Regions from separate parts of the Homo sapiens genome. Here region 1 is linked to region 2. Evidence: promoter capture Hi-C in human tissues and cell types (Jung and others, 2019). All regions are on one chromosome and are shown on one strand. Each heading gives the region's core, a stretch centred on a gene start or on the middle of the fragment in contact. The rest is flanking DNA. Distances are from core to core; before and after follow the strand shown.

Region 1 (2,700 bases), core at 153-2,652, 1.1 Mb after region 2:
GTATGTTCTGCAAGGTGATGGCAACCCTCTGGTAAGTTACCTTGCTGCCAATGTCTAAGTCTTTTCCAGCCAGTTGTAGTGGCATTAGTTCCGATAGTGGCCAAAGTTCTAGTGGCCGTATAGTTGACAGCATTTCAAAGAGTTACCTACTTACTTTCCATATTAGTGTTTACACAACAGAGATTCTCTATAGGCATCTCTATTCCCCAAGAATTTCATGTTGAAATAACAAAATGGCCTAGATTCACCTGAAGATAAATTGCTTTAATTATTAAGCAGACTGTGAAGCTCACAGTTTCAAATATCAGGTCAGTGCAGTGCCCAGCGTCAGCAGAAGCTTTGCTGTGCTATTTCTCCAGGTGCTACTATTGAGCCTTAATATTACTGGAACAATTCCATTCAGGACTAGCTTTATCTGTGCAATTTGCCCACTTCTTCAACAGAAGAAAATTGATCTTAGTAATTGTGAGAAGAAACTATGATTTCCCAGTGTTGTAAAGTTTAGTCCAATTGTTGGCATTATTATTAATATCTATGGAAATCTCACAGCATAATTATTTCTTAGGTCTTAGAATTGATGATGAAGCTGTATAGATACCTATCAACTCTCATTTTTACACTTTATGTGAGCTCATGAAGAGAATAGAGTGCTTAAGACTAACAGCACATGGACTTCAATTGGACAACCTGGGTTTGAATCCCAGCTTTACTTATTTATCAGCCATGTGTCTGAAACTCAGCTTCCTCAGCTTTAAAGTGGAAAGTATTAATTAAGATTACAAAAGGATTACACAAAATAACATATAAGGTGTATAACACAGGGCTCAGCACTCAGAAGTGTTTCATAAACATTAGCTAGGTCAATCTGTGAGTTCCTAATTTCTTTAAGCAAATTTGGGAGCATTGAAAAAAATGACCATCTAATAGCATTTCTAAAGCTCTGAAGACAATTCTTTCCAAAAGAAATTCCAGTTGACCTGTTTCTCTCTAAAGCTTACATCAGCAAGCTTTTCCTAACTGTGATGATCTCAACTTCCTTTCTGGATATTTATTATGCAACAATGCTAACGTTTTGGTTTGGAAGCTCCCCCGCTCAGGTCCCATTATCAATAATCAAGCCAGGTTAAAGCTCTCTAAACATACTTGGCATCAGCAGATGGAATAACCCAGTTTCAATGACACTTTCCCTAATCTTACCATTCTGAATCAGGAGTAGGCATTGTAAGGCCAACGATTTTTAAATTTTGGTTTTCCTAGATATATAATTTTTATGTCATTTTTGCTCTGGGTAAGGGGAGGCCAAGTCTGAACTGAGAAAATGAAATAATAGGGTTTATTTAAGCAAGGTACTCTGATGGGAATTTTGCCCCAAAGCCACTCCTCTCCCTTTATAGTAGGATGAAGCTCACCTTTAGATGCTCACCTGTTGAGATGGGCAATTCTCCCCTGTATTGCCATTTAGATTTACAGCTCCTCTCTTTGAGGTTCACATTCATTAAAACTATACATTTGATGCCCACACTATTCATCTGCTGAAATCATAGTATTCTGGAGCTAAAATTTCACTTTCTGAGACTTCTGTCAATCGAGAGTGTGGTATAAAACAAGACATGTTTTGGCATTTTTTCCAGTAAATCCGCTTTGTTATAATATTTCCTTTTGAAAATACTGATTAATAGTTCATGTAGTTAGTAGTATCCTCCAGGCACTGTTCTATTTGTTTTATAAAAATAATGCCCTTAATCCTCACAATAGCCCTATGTGATGATTAATTATTATTCTCACTTTATAGATGAGAAAAGTCAGGTACAAAGAAGTTAAGAAACCCCCTAAGGTCTCATAGTTGCCAAATGGTGAAGCCAAGATTTGAATGTGGATCTCATATCAGATCCTAAGCCTTTAACCACTATACCACATTCTGCCTCTCATTTAAAAAGCATTAGAAGCATATATAAAATCGAAAAGAAGATTTGGTGCATTACGAAGTAAATTTGTCACAAGTTTAGCATATTTCTGGAACCAAAAATATTAAAATAAACTAATCTTAATTTATACATGTCTAAGAAACCATATGCTTATAAACCACTAGGAGACACAGACAAGGATATAAAATGATTATGAAAATCAGCCAAAAGGTCAATGTAGCTTCCACCATGGTTACTGTGGTATTTTGGTGCTCTTATTTATGAATATTTTTCTTCCTCTCCCAACATACCCAGATTGTAAAAAGGTAAAGAAGAGTTCTTGTGTGTTGGACAATGTTTCTTTTTCTTTTTTTTTTATTAATTTGAGCAGGACATCATTATCCAAGCCCAGCCTTGAATATGTGCTATACACAAAACAATTTATCTACTAGAGTTCATGGGCAGCTGGATTGGGAAAAAACACATTAATTATCATTCAAGTGGAAATGCCCCCATAGACATACCATTTAATTAACAGAGAGGCCAGTATTGGAAATGAGTAATTTGAGGCAAGACAGAGAAAGATGTGTGAGATAAACCCTTAGGTGATTTAAGGACATTATCTGTGGATAAACACTTTAAAATACATGAAATATATATCTATCTTATAAACTCCTTGTAAACATAAAAGGATTCCTTAGAAGAAAGGCCCCTGTGAGCTTCTTCCTTCCCTGTATTAAGTCATCACCTGTTATTAGGAAGCTTGTGTTCCACAGAAACATCAATTCCTTTAGTG
Region 2 (2,700 bases), core at 35-2,534:
ATAGAGAAGTGTGACTCAGAGCAGGGTTCATTTCCAGGTCCTTGCTGTAGATAGGATGATGCCATTCACACTCTGAGAAATCTCTTCCCATCGCTCTCCGAAGGAAGTCTAAACCAGATGGTAACTTAGCTTAGCTGCAAAGAAAATAAGAGCCACCAACAATTTAATGTTTTTCAAACTGCCTGGACAATCTTTTCCTTCCTCATACAGGCACGATAACAGAAGTGGCCGGTGGAGGGTGGCCCATTGAGTGCCCATGATGCAGTCCAACCAAGAAACAAAGTTCTCTGCACACCCCTCGCCCAGGCAAAAAGAGAAAGTAAAAGCAACCGGTTGCTGCCAAGGGGTGTGGTGTGGTGGGGCTGGCACTACCCTGAACATCAATGAAGGCTGTCTGTTTCTGGTCCTGCTTCCGCAGTGAGAGGCAGCAGGTCCCCAAGCAGGCGACCTGCCCTTCACCGTGAGGCTGTCAGCCTTGGGGGAGCGGGGTCATTTGGAGCTGATAAACCAATGAGAAGAAAGGTTTGTTGCTCTAGGCGGTGGGTGAGGGCATCATAGCTGACTCTTGGTCTTGGTCACTTTCGGAGGAGATGGTTTATTTAACCTGACTTCCTTCCTGATGCGCACCGTAGGCGCAGTGAAATCCGGGAATCGTGGGGAATCCTTGGCGCTGTGGGTGGAGGCTCCTCTTGGCCCTGTGGCCAAGGTGACCAAGGGCCGAAGGAAAAGCGAGAACGGGAGGGACGGGACGCAAGAGGGCAGATGGGGAACCCCATACTCCAGCAACATTATATAAGAGAGGCGACGATGGAGCAGCGCACCCGGCCAAAAAAGCCTCCGTGCGCCTACTCTACGGTGCACCGCGTCCCCTCTGCACCAGAAGGGCCCTGTCCTCCCACATCCACCGCGCCCTCCTCCGGGCCCCCGAGGGCACTGGGGCGCTTCCTCTGCCAGACCTCCCCTGCGACTCACTCTTCCGGCTCCAGAGCCCCCCCGCCCCAACAGCAAAGCAGCCGTGACCTGCCCCAGGGGCGCAGCCCTGCCCCAGGCTGGAAGGCAGCAGAGCTGTGGCGTCGAGGCACCCAGCGGACTGCGGGGCTGGCGTGCCCGCGGTTACCTGCGCGGCCAGAGGGCTCCGCGAGATCGAAGAACCAGAAGAGCAGCATGAGGAGCCCCGCCGGGCGGCGAGGGGTCGCCCAGCCTGTCCTCATCCTGAGCTGGCGCAAGCCTTCCGGCCGGGTCCTCGGGCGCACGCGGCTCCCGCCCCGCCTGCTGAGCGCGGCCTGCCCCGCCCGCACCTCTGTCTAGGCCTCTGGGGGCGCCCCGGCCCCGCCCCCGCCGCCCTCGGCCAATCAGACGTGCGTCTCCTCGGCCCCGGGGCGGAGCGGGCCAGGTGTGGGAAATGAACAGGGCTGGGCGCTAGATACCTGCGTGGGGTAGGACCCGCGAGGAAGAGGTACGTGCGGATCGGTGGGAGAGCCAGGCACCAGACAGGCTCCTGCACTGGAGGGTTCGGTCCCCGCCTCTTCATCAGCCAAGCTGGGGAGATGCGGCCCTTACTGGGACTTGGCACCGCCCTGGTGGGTGGGTTCTATCAGTTTAGAACCTTGGCCTCTGCCTGGCGCACTGTGGTCAGGGACGACTTCTCCATTCCAGCCTGGACTGGAAAGGGACCCATGATCTCTTCTACCCCGGAGGAGGAAGTGAGCACCTGCCCTGTGGGTGGCTGCGGCCAAGCCTAAGAATTCAGTCGTCCTTGGCAACGTCTTGGGTATTTTGACAGTGCAAACAAAGGTGGAATAATGGTACACTGCAGTTCTACCCATAGTTGTTAAAGAATTAAAAGCAAGAATTACTAGAATGACCAAACGACACTTCCAAGGATGACTTATGCTTTATAAAAAGTTGACCTTTGCGAGTAAGCTCTTTGCTTAATAATTTAATGATAATAATAATTAGCTGGTAGAAATGTAGAAGTCTGCATGCAGAACCAGAAATTTCATGTCCCACTCACTCTCTTCCTGTGGACACTGCTATCATTATAAAGAGGCCAAATTCTTAATGACCTAAGTTGCTCAAATGTGAATGTTTTATACTTTTAAATCTCGTCTTTGCTGAGCACATAATGTGTACTTGAGGTGGCCTCCATCCTTGTTGCATGAGGATGCAAAGACCTAGGTTGCTCTTCCTGACTCCCACTGCCAAGGTTTCACAGTTGGCTCCCAAACCTGCTCTGTCCTCTCCCCAGGGTCTGGCCTTTCAGTTCCATAGATATAGTGAGCACCTGCCATCACAGGATCTGGGCACGCCATGGAACAGAAGGACAAAAAGACAACATCTCTGCCCTCCCCTGAATACTGGGGAGACTGAGGCACTGTGATGGATAATATTGTCAGCTCGATTGATATGAACGAATGCAAAGTATTGTTCCTGGGTGTGTCTGTGAGGGTGTTGCCAAGGAGATTAACAGTGGACTGGGAGAGGCGGACCAGCCCTCAGTCTGGGTGGGCACCATCTCATCAGCTGCCAGCATGGCTAGAATAAAAGCAGGCAGAAGTTGGAAGGACTTGACTGGCTGAGTCTCCTGGCCTTCACCTTTCTCCCGTGCTAGATGCTTCCTACCCTCGAACATCGGACTCCAGGTTCTTCAGCTTTTGGACTCTTAGACCTATAAAAGTGGTTTGTCAGGGGATCTCTGGC

Evidence for each region. Contacts are between HindIII fragments. The study calls those that stand out against the background at their distance.
Region 1: a fragment that was not itself captured here is called in contact with the fragment with the promoter of LY75 in region 2 in 1 of the 25 tissues and cell types used here (dorsolateral prefrontal cortex).

Annotation. Positions count from the first base shown.
Region 1 is chr2:160,963,120-160,965,819 of GRCh38, forward strand. No RefSeq gene overlaps it. Among named protein-coding and RNA genes, the nearest start is that of TANK-AS1, 200 kb to the right of the region's middle. The HindIII fragment of the contact is 4,944 bases long and covers 1-2,700 here.
Region 2 is chr2:159,903,472-159,906,171 of GRCh38, forward strand. It overlaps LY75 (lymphocyte antigen 75), which reads right to left and starts at 1,285. Exons shown (of 35, transcript NM_002349.4): 1 at 1,118-1,285. The coding sequence starts at 1,211. LY75-CD302 (LY75-CD302 readthrough) reads right to left here and starts at 1,285. Exons shown (of 38, transcript NM_001198760.1): 1 at 1,118-1,285. The coding sequence starts at 1,211. RefSeq lists enhancers at 197-246, 297-346, 567-616, 757-836 and silencers at 1,017-1,476, 1,246-1,487. The HindIII fragment of the contact is 14,335 bases long and covers 1-2,700 here.